2 separate regions of the Homo sapiens genome follow, and region 1 is linked to region 2. The links are contacts of gene promoters, found by promoter capture Hi-C in human tissues and cell types (Jung and others, 2019). All regions are on one chromosome and are shown on one strand. Each heading gives the region's core, a stretch centred on a gene start or on the middle of the fragment in contact. The rest is flanking DNA. Distances are from core to core; before and after follow the strand shown. Region 1 overlaps STARD13 (StAR related lipid transfer domain containing 13). Region 2 holds the start of FRY (FRY microtubule binding protein).

What was found. Contacts are between HindIII fragments. The study calls those that stand out against the background at their distance.
Region 1: a fragment that was not itself captured here is called in contact with the fragment with the promoter of FRY in region 2 in 1 of the 25 tissues and cell types used here (aorta).

The regions. Positions count from the first base shown.
Region 1 is chr13:33,114,481-33,120,000 of GRCh38, forward strand. STARD13 (StAR related lipid transfer domain containing 13) reads right to left here. Exons shown (of 14, transcript NM_178006.4): 8 at 3,585-3,783. Among named protein-coding and RNA genes, the nearest start is that of KL, 100 kb to the left of the region's middle. The HindIII fragment of the contact is 8,860 bases long and covers 1-5,520 here.
Region 2 is chr13:32,029,109-32,034,820 of GRCh38, forward strand. FRY (FRY microtubule binding protein) reads left to right here and starts at 2,666. Exons shown (of 61, transcript NM_023037.3): 1 at 2,666-2,757. The coding sequence starts at 2,688. FRY-AS1 (FRY antisense RNA 1) reads right to left here and starts at 2,531. Exons shown (of 4, transcript NR_103839.1): 1 at 2,343-2,531. The HindIII fragment of the contact is 5,087 bases long and covers 1-4,950 here.

The sequences.
Region 1 (5,520 bases), core at 2,131-4,630, 1.1 Mb after region 2:
GATATACCTGGGGTTTACAGAGAAGAGCCGTTTTGTTAAAATTAGAGTGAACCCATTTTCTTACTCTCGCTTAGGGTGGAGGAGAAACAGATGGTACTAATGATCTGAAGCTTGTGAGAGGTGTAACAAGTTTTGCTTGAGCTGCAGAATTGTTTTAAATATGCTGCTCTAGGTAAGGTGTCCAGTGTGTATACATTGTTTAACTTTAGATTACTAAGCTTCTTTTCCATGCCAACATTTTTTCCCAGCCATCATTTTTGAAGAGTCGCCTGTCATCTCTATATGTTGTCTCAGTTCCCTTTCTATCCGCTTGTTCTTTTATCCATCAGAAAATACTTCCTGTCCATTATTATTATTATTATTTACTAAAAACGCTTCAAATACCTAAATTCAGCATTTGTTTTGGATCCTATGCTCTTTTAGCTTTCTGTTACATACCATGCTGCTGCGGGTCCTGCCCCTTTCCTGGCTCTAAGGGGATGATTCTAGGTCTGAATTTCTAAGTGTGGATAATTTGCAATCATATGGGGGATCCTGGCACCTCAAATTCAGATTCCTGTGGATTCTGAACCCTTCTCCCCTCCAATTTCCACATTCTTTCAATCATCAGGCCTTAAAGCCTTATGGTTGTCTTTGACTCTTCTATCCTTCTCCCTCCTCCAGATGGGTAGGACTCAAATATTTTCATTACCCATCCAACACTCCAATTTAGTTCATCATTTGACAAAAATCCAAGAAGTGGCATAGCTGAAAACAGAACTTCTCTGGAGAAATGGAGGAGGAACCGTTCCTCTCTGCCACAGTAGCAGTTTGGAAACTTTGACTCTAGGGTCTATGCATGGAATATCTTCTCTCCAGTCTCACTGCTGGAAGTCCCTGCAGGTAATTTGGAACCTTGATTAGTATGCTGACTCCCTGAGTCTCCATGCTCGTCCAGTTCGGTGCCTCTTGTGCACCACTTCCAGATTCCTGGGTCAATGACACTGTGCTGATGGACTTTCTCCCTGTAGCAGATACAAGGCTGGCCACCTGCTCAACTCAATACCCATTCTTCCCTTCTTCCTCATTAAGAAAACACATGTTCTGCTCAGGTGTGAGCTGCAATGTACTCAGGGAAATGGGTGTCTCCCTCAGACCCAGGGATGAACCATGCTGCCCTAAACCAAAACTGGTAACCCAGGTCTTCTTTCCAGTGTTTGGTTTAAGGGGGAAGCTGTAAACCACTTCTGCCTGAGGGCCAAGAAAAATGCTGAGAGCTTCTGTAAGATGTATGACCCTGATAAAAAGAGACACATGGCCAAAGAGAAGCGTGGTCACTCTCTTCTTGTCTTGGAATGTGATTTTGTGAAGATGTGATAATTATAAGTTGTGACAATTATATTGTGACCTTAAAGGGAAAGCCAATAGAGGCTGACTTTAGCCCTGGCATCACTGAGCTGCGGGATACCCAACTCTGGAATTATGTGAGATAATAAAATGTACTTATTGTTTAAATGACTGTTCAAATGACTGTTCGTTGGATATTTGGTTCTGTCTTTACAGCTGAGAACACTGTAACTGGTAAGTCCCTCAACAACACCCGACGGTTCCCCAATGCTTAATGAATCAAGCATACACTCCTTGCCCTAATATTCAATGTCCTTCCTTTATGGCCCCAGCGTCATTTTTCAGTGTCATTTGGTGTCACTTTGTATGTCTGCCATACATGCAAGCCAGATGAATACACTGGGCTCTCCTGACTTCTGCTTATGCTATCTGCCGAGCAGGTACCCAAAATGTGTTCCTCACATATCTCAGCCTTCAGTTGTCACTTCCTCCATGAAGCCCTCATTCTTCATCTCTCCCTCCTTGGACTTTTCTTTGTAACCTTTCTATGGAAATTCTCCAAATTTGTTGTGTTGGAGTTTTTTGTGTTCATGCCTCATCTCCCTCAATTGTAAGATCCTTAAGATCAGAGAGTGAGTCTCATCCATCCATATGCTCTGCCATGCTAAGCACGGTGCCCAGTACAGAAGTCACGCTCTGTAAATGTTTGCTCAGCTAAAATAAAGCCTGCTTTGATCTGGCTTCTTGCTTGTGACTCAGAAAGGGCCAAAGACATTTATTTCTTGAAAGTAATGTGGCTTTAGCCTTAGACTAGTGTCAACTTTAATCCAAGAACTGATTAAATGTAAAAGACTCATATCTGATACTTCCAAACCATAAGGGAGACTTAATTGAAAAATGTAGTTCAACCTCTCACAGCAACAACATCAAGAACTCCCTGTTTGGGCTCTAGCAACTTGTACCATTAACTTAACTTAATCTACTTACTTTGAAAAACTAATATTTACTTAGTGGGTTGCCACCTTAATCTGTTTTCACAAGTGGTTCTGATTACAATCCTTTCTGAGTTTGCAGTATCATGGACTCCTTAAACACATTTTATACAGAATTCTCTATAGCATGGATATTCTTCAAATTGAATCAAGTCCATGTCAAGGTCCATTTCAGGCATATTTTGCTGAAAACTCAAAACTCAAAGTCCATGGGCCAAATGGCTTTTTTCCCCCATGAATTGGGATCTGGACCATCAAAATAATTCATAATGTTAACATTGTCATATCTAGCAAAGAGTCACGTGTTTAATTTCATTCTTTTTTTTCTGAGATGGAGTCTCGCTCTGTCACCCAGGCCGGAGTGCAGTGGTGCAATCTCCACTCACTGCAACCTCCGTCTCCTGGGTTCAAGTGATTCTCCTGCCTCAGCCTCCTGAGTAGCTGGGATTTCAGGCACCCGCCACCATGCCTGGCTAATTTTTGTATCTTTTAGTTAGAGATGGGGTTTCACCATGTTGGCCAGGCTGGTCTTGAACTCCTGACCTCAGACAATCCAACCACCTCCACCTCCCAAAGTGCTGGGATTACAGGCGTGAGCCACCATGCCCAGCCCATGTGTTTATTTCTAATACCCCCATTGCAACCACTTATAGTAGGATATGCTTCTTAATCAACAATTGTTATTTTCAGGGATTATTTTAATTATACAGGCTTTGCTGAGAACTTAACATTATTAAAAAAAATCCAAGTGAAAATATAAATAAGTTTATTTAAGCTTAAGACTTGATTTGGTTTGCTTACTTTTCACCAATGAAGATACTTTGTGCTAAAATACATTTGTTTTTATTTCCTGTCATTTTAATTCATGTCACTTTGAATTTCCTATATCCCAAAGAAATGCTTACTTTTTTAAAAAATTGAATAAGTTTTAATAAATACCTATATATAAAACAACTTCTATTGTGTCCCTTTTTCATTTTAAATTTTTGTAAATGTATTGAAAGTTTGTTTTAGATCATACACAAAACTCTTTTGAGAAGGAATATTTTGATGTCAAAAAGGTATTTTCAAATGCATAAAAAAATGGCTTGTGGATTTCCATATCAAACTTTGAGCAAAAGTTACTTCCGTAGAGGAGAGCAGGATTACATACATCTTTATGGATTGATGTATTATTCGTATAATTAAAACTCAATCTATAGGGAATTATTTTCATTAAAGTGGAAGGATGCCCACGAGAACACCAATCTCATTATTTCCACTTACACTGATAGATATGGAGAAAGGTCTCACTGAGCTTGTTGGTGAAAAGAGGCTCAGGGAGGTCCCGGAAGAACTGTTTCACCATATCCGCCACATCATAAGCAGACTGGTCTTCATAGTTGACGTTCTCAGGGAAGTTTTCATTCATTTGGCGAAGGGCATGGATTCGAGACTTCACTCCTGATTTGCGAAAAAGACCCACCTGAAACAAAGCCATAGGGATGTGTCAGCCAGGCCACACTTGGTTGTGAGGAGGAGGAGGAAGCATGGGAAGGGAACTGGATGAGCTGGAATTGCCTCCCAATTAGTACATGCTGAACTACTAGTATAGCTACTTTAGGCAGTACCCGAACACTGTCTTCCTCTCCTATGAAATGAAGATAAGAATAAAACCCCACCTCACAGGATTACTGTGGAGAGTAAGTGAGGAAATAGATGTGCATGTGCTTTGCGACCTGTTACATCTTATCACACTGCAGATGTTATTATTATTTTATTCATTTATTCAACAAGTAGTGATTAAGTAACCACTGTGTATCAGGCATGCTTAGAGTTCCTAGGTGTCATTAGTGAGCAGAACAGATAAAATTCCCTGCCCTTTAGGGTTTACATTGCCATGGGGATTTTGAGAACGTCTGGTCAATGGGAGGTTTGGTGAAAACAATGTGGGTCGTGGATGAAAGAATCCCAGATAAACAGCCATATCCAGTGCCCCTGCAGGGGAGAGTTTTATGGGGAATATGTTCATGAAACAGACTAATATCATAAGTACATATTTTGATTTAAGGAATTTATTTACTTTTTCTTCTTTGGAATTCTTGGCACTTACTTTTCTACCTGTTTGTTTTTATGCAGTAAGCTATGGCTCTAGTGAGAATGATTCCTGGGTGGCTTTTTTTTCAGACCTCAAGATATTGTCATATCATGCCTTTTTCATCTTAGAGTCTAGACTCCTCCCCTACTTGATGAATAAATGGAGCATTAAGGCATCAAGGACAGAGTGGCCCTAATGAGAATGAGTGAGGCAGAGCAGAGCCCGGCAAGAATGAAGATCCTGCAATGGTGGGGCAGGTTAAGCTCTAGGCCCTCTAGAGGAACTTTCTGTGCTGGACTTACCCGCTATTCAAAAAGGAACTGAACTTTCCTGGGCACCCTGGCTTATAGTGAAATAATATGTCTGCTATTTTTTAAATGCCTATAGGGAGTTGATTTGCTTCAACCCTCAATTTTCACAGCTCTCATTCCCCAGTGGCTCATGGGTTGGCCCACTTCTGCAAAGCAAGGTAGAACCTTCCTGAGTGGCTGGTCAGGTAGACAGTGGCCACTAGTGTCAGCCACTGCTCATCCCCCCTATACCTGGAGGAAAGCCTAATACAGGTCGTCTTACTGATCACTCTGTGTGCCAGGCCGGCCTCCACCCAAGTTCGGGTATGTGACAAAGGCTTTCCTGATTGCTGCAACAAATGGAGAGCAGTCCTCATTCTTTTAAATTGTGGTAACAGCAGGGGAAGGATTCCAAGCCATTAGAGCATACTCAGGTTTTTGTATATGTCAGCCGAATGGATCACAGGGGAAATTATACACTGCTACTTTTTGTGGCCATAAAAACAGAATTCTTAGTAATATTTCTTTGCATTCCAAGGTTTATCGCTCTAATCCCACACATCAGGATATTCAGGCTGATAATATTGTCACTTAAAATATGAGTTACTTTCTTTTTTATTCTTAAAGTTTGGAATGTCTAGAAAATGCACAGTTTTGCCATACTTAGATGATTCGCCACAAAGAATCCAGACAATATTTATCTTCCTTCAACTGGCAACAACTCCAAATTTCATCAAAGGGCATGGAAAGAAAGCATGTACTGTCAAAAGAGAAAAAAATTCAAGATGTCAGGTGAGTGATTATTGGGGTGAGATCCATCTCCGATTTGTTTACA
Region 2 (5,712 bases), core at 1,416-3,915:
CTCAGCAAGTTAGTATGTTTATAGTAGTTAAATACTGAAAACTTATGTATTTAAGTATTGAAAACTTTAAAAAGCCAGTTAAAAATTTTTTAAAATAAAGTCAACAGAGAGAATCTCTATATATTTGAGTAACAATATACAATAGCATGTTTGCTTATTGCAACTGATTTTAAATGTCTCCAACTTGCTCTCCCCAAATAGTTACCACTGGTGTTCAAAAGTAATATATCTTTTAAACCACATAAAGAGTAAAGAAAAAAAAGTATTTAGCTTTTTAAAAAAAAGTTCTATTCTAGAGTCACTAAGGATTCATAATAAGAATGAATGGGCCAGGCGCAGTGGCTCATGTCTGTACTTTGGGAGACCAAGGCAGGTGGATCACCTGAGGTCAGGAGTTCAAGATCACCCCAGCCAACACTGTGAAACCCTATTTCTACTAAAAATACAAAAATTAGCCGGGCATGGTGGCGCATGCCTGTCACCCCAGCTACTCAGAAGGCTGAGGCAGGAGAATCGCTTGAACCCGGGAGGCAGAGGTTGCAGTGAGCCAAGATTGCACCACTGCATTCCAGCCCAGGCGACAGAGTGAGATTGTCTCAAAAAAAAAAAAAAAAAAAAAATCAATGTAGCTAAAATTTAATGAAGTGTTAACTATGGGCAAGATACTATGCTGAGCCCCTTTCATACATAGTGTTATTTATTGTTTCCAACAACTATAGGAAGAAGGTACAACCCCATTTTACAGATGAGGAAACGAAGGCTTAGCAAAGTTAATAGCTTACTTTGGGGCTCAAAGCTAGTAAGGGCTGGTGCCAGGAGCGAACATGGGGCCCTGCCTTGAGAGCCCATGCCATCGTTAATCGCAGGGCACTGTGCAGCCTACCTGTTCATTCACTGCCATCTGAGTCTTGGCAAGCATCAGATGGGCGTAGGTATGAAATTTATTTTCAGATATAATAATTGTTTCAAGGTAAAACCTTTGGGTCTTATTTTACCTAGAATCCATACATTCAAAGTACAAGTGATAAAATCAGTTCAGCAACTCTAGTATGCACATGAATTAAAAAGAAGTCAATCTGGTGAGAGATTTCATCAGAATAAAGTGTATAAGTGGAGTTGGAAATCTGAGTGATTGAGTGCTTGCCATTTGGGTAAGTGTAATGAGTTTGAAAAACTAATTGTATTGATGAAGTATCTTAGGGCCTTTCAGAACATAGTTCTAGAAGTTTTATTTAGTGTTGAATTTTAAAAATTCTTTGTCCTAACAATAAAAGTACATTGTAGTCTTTCCCTTCCATTTTTAAAATGAACTGTTAATCTAGGAAGTCCTGTTTGTGTGTTGATTTGGGGAGTTAGCCCAACATTTGCTATGTTAAATACTTATTAACATGGTTTATTACTTTTTTCTGTTTTTTAGACAACATTAATCATGAATGTACTGGGACTTGGGAAGGATCCTGTGGTTTATGAGATAGTTGGCCAAATCCCACCTCTTCCAACATAACCTGTCATTATTAAAATATAATACTCTTATTTAATCCCCTGGTCAAGCTAAATGATAATGTGAAACAAAGCTAACCAAAATCAGGACACCTGATATCAAGAATTCATGAAATCAAGAGCCATTGTAGAGCAAGGAATCTAATGCTTTTGCTTCTTATCCTTTTCATACAAATAAAATAAGCTTCACTGGGCTTAGTGAGTCTTAGAAATGAGAGGTTTGAGAATAAGATCCATTGTGGAGTGTGTGACATTACAAAAACAAGCCAACTAAGCAGTGTGTACTGTCCCCTTAGAGTGCACACGTTCGGGCTCCGATGCCCCTTGAAAAGACTGCATTTCTGGGAGGGAAAAGTAAAAATGCAGATACCACCATGCGTGTGGAAGGCAGGGAAGAAAAAGCCCAGACAAGCGTCCTCTTGTTGAGTCTCTTTACTGCAACGAGGCTGACGGATGGGGTTTTTCAAAACGTCGCTGCAACCAGATGCAAGGCTGCAGCTTTGCTTACCGCAGCGTGCTGCAGTTGTGTTTATTTCAGGGACAGACACAAGGGGAAGCAGCAGCCAGAGCACACCCGGGCCGCTCACGGGAAGCCTTGCTGAAGAGAGAGGATCCGCAGAAGCTGGGAAATTCCTCCCGCAGCCTAGGCGGAGACTGAGCCGCGGCTCAGGTTGAGACAGTGGGCAGGGGCAGGGGGCGGCGCTCCCGGCCCATCCCTTAGCCCCGCGGCGGCCGTGTGGGCCGGAGGCTGCCTGCACCGCGTCAGGGAGGCCGGCCTAGAAACCCTCCCTCCCAGAAGAAAGCCGATCCCAGTTCAGGTGGGGTCTTCCTCGGTTGCGTACCTGGCTGGAGCCGAGCTGGTGGGCGGCCGGCAGCCGGCGTTTCTGGTGATGACAGCCCCGAAATGAAAGCAGCGCGGCCGCCGCCTCCGAGGGCTGCAGGGAGATCAGCGTCCAGCAAATAAGAAGCAAGTCCTGGACCCGGAGGAGGAGGAGCGGCCGAGCATCTCTCTCTGCTCCGCCGTGTCCTTTAGATGAGCACTCCCGGCCGGAGCCGGAGGTGGATCCGCAGAGCTGCCTCTGGGCGCCTGACCCCGCGCTGACATCACAACCTGTGACAGGCGCATCACGCCCGGTACCTGCTCCCGGCCGCTGCCCGTCCTCCCAGCCTCTTTGTATGCCGCAGACATGGCCAGCCAGCAGGATTCGGGCTTCTTTGAGATCAGTATCAAATATTTACTGAAATCCTGGAGTAATAGTGAGTAATAGAAAATAACCTTTTTGTTTGTTTGTTTGCTGGATGTTGCATAAGGCTGGAGACAGAAAATCTCAACTGGACACATATGTTTGTGAGCCGCGGAAGTTTTTCTTTTTTTCTTTTCTTTTCTTTTCTCTTTCTTTCTTTCTTTCTTTCTTTTTCTTTCTTTCTTTCTTTCTTTTTTTGCTCCCATCTGCTGTGAAAATCAAAATGTCAGAGACTGAACTAGCTTTCCTTAAGTGCAAAGGCTGCAATGGAATTACAGTAGATTGTGTTTGATTAAATTTTCAAGTGAGGCAGCCCTTCAGACTCTGGGGGAGCTCAGGATCAGGCATTCCTGGCTGCATTTCCTGCCTTGATGTTTATTTGATTTGTTCAGGCTTTCTCTAAATATTTTGTGAAGTGTGATTTAATCAAAGGGGTGTGGCAGGGTTTCAGAGTACTTTGTAATTGTTTTTTTAGGGTATTGTCTGAAGAAAGAAAAGTATTTAATAGTCCAAAACCTAGGACATCCTTTTTGTATATAGAGGCATCTGCAGATTTATTTCATCTCTCCCTCTTCCATGTGGATGATGTTCTGAATGCCATTTAATATTTGAATTTTTAAAAATCCTGATGTTTGCTATAGTCCAAATATTGTGCTTTTTTGAAACATAAACAAGTGAGGTTCTGACCCTAATTATTTATTAGGATAGCAGAATATGATGGCTCCTGAAGTTCCATTTCTGACCTACATAAGGATTTTAGCAATACGCTATTTCAAAAAGACAACCTCTAAGCTGCCGTGGATCTGGAATCAAATTAAAATGAGGCCTTCAGGTGATCAATGATGCCTTGTATTTTCCGAACTGTTTAAAAAGAAAGTCTTCTCTATTTCACTAACAGCCTTTGTACTTGCTTTGGATAAAAGATCAGCAGGTATTACTGATGCTTTATTGTTTTAAATAAAAAAATTTTTTCCCCGTGAAAATTTTAATATTGTATTATGTGCATACTGATTAACCTACCTGTGCTCAAAGAGCTAGTGATTAATTGTCTCCTACACAAATGACCTGTGGCCAAGATTGTTCTTATATAAACAAAACCTGGGCAGGAGAACCTGTGCTGCAATTGCTTTGAGGAAAAGAGCTAAAGTACCTTCAGCCTTAAGGTATTCAGGGATGTGCATCTCTAAATGATATCCATAGAAACCATTTTTTCCAGGTCATTTTGCACCACTGTATACACTATGGGGCTTGTCTGAAGCTGTTTTTCTACAAGTGGGAAGCCATTTGGGAGTAATACTGTTGCCCAAACAGCATTCTTTACTTGTCATAGCTATAAATCATTTAACTTGGACTCATTATTTTTATAATACTTTACACTCAAGGATGAATCTTCCTTTGTCTATCTGCTCTTTGATTAATGAAAAGAATTTGACATACAGTGTTCTTTATGGAGCAGTTTTCCAATAACTGAAAAAACTCACTTTTGAGTTGACATCAGTACGTGGTTTTTAAACATATTTGATTATTCCAAGACCAGACTGTTTTCTTCCATCAATTTTTGTCATTGCATCATTAAATAGAAAATTATGTTGTGACAATACTGAGGCCAATGGGATTTCTTTTAAAAATTTCTCTCCCCTTGTCTATTTTCAAATCACTCTAGATAAAGTATATATTCTCTCCACCCTTCCTAAACTCCTCTCCCCACATACATACTTCAGGAAATGATTCAAAATGACTGTTCATTTCTACTTTGAGAATATCTGTGATACAATTTTGAATTCTTCCAATTCATTCAGCAAATATTTATTGAATACCTACTATGTGCCAGGCTGTGGGGCTACACAAGGTGAATAAGACACAGTCCCTGCCCACTATATTAATTTTTTTATTTCAGAGTAGTGAAGTTGGTGGCTTTCCAGCATTCTTTTGAGGGGGAGAATGTTTTTCAGTCCTTTCTTGAAAGAGGAAGAGGAAATATACTTTGTTTATCTTCTTTAAGCTTGTTACAACACTAACCTGCTTACAATCTAGCATAGTTCTCATTGCTAAGTTTTACATATTTTGAGCAGCAAAGAGAGAAAGGAATTTGTCTGTGTAGAAGGCAAAGTAGAAACAGAAGCCCTAAGGCTCAACATACTCAGTGTAACCTTGGCTGAGAGGATGCACCATGAGGCAAGCGGCTAATTGCACCTGCATGCACCTGCACGCGCATGCCTGGCCTCACAAGTTTGAGAGGTGAGGATGTCTGCCCACATACCTGAATGGAGACTCAGCCTCTTAATTATATGGTGGTGCTTATTTACAAAAGTGCAGTAATTAAAAAGCAATAAAACAAACTCTATAACTATGACTGGCTGTTTTGCAAGGTGTTAGAAGAAAGGTAATTCCATAAGCGTTTCCAGGTAAAGCTTTCCATATTTTTTTAAATGGCACATTGTGGGGAAAATGTAATTATATATATATTAGTCCCCTCCAAAGAATTCACAGGCCAATAAATAGATCAGTCGCTGGCTAGTGAGATGTACTAGCTTTCATTCGATGTTCATTTTGGTGTTCTCCTCTTTATCGGCACGTCTACTCTGTCATGCTGCCCTTTGATTTGAATGGAGGTGGGAATTAAAATGGCCTTGATGTCTGGAAATAAAATGTCCTATGTAGACCTGAATATGGAGGCTTTCCTGTCCCCTTGGATGTCTGTCCTGTTGCTCTTCCCTGCTCTTATCCAGCCTTTCCCCAGCTGTCTAGTGGTTCTCACGGCTGCGGCCCCTTGTTAATCATGGCCACAGCCTCCACATGCCCTTCTCAGTTTAACCTGGAATGCTCCAGTGGTGTCCTCACAGTCAAAGGCTGCTCCCCAGCTCCCTTTTGCCTCTGAGTGTCAGTGGTAGCCACTCAGGACCCTCTTTGAGCTCCTCGTTCATCCTCTCTCATGTTTTTCTGCTCCAGCCAACCAAGCTTAATCTAC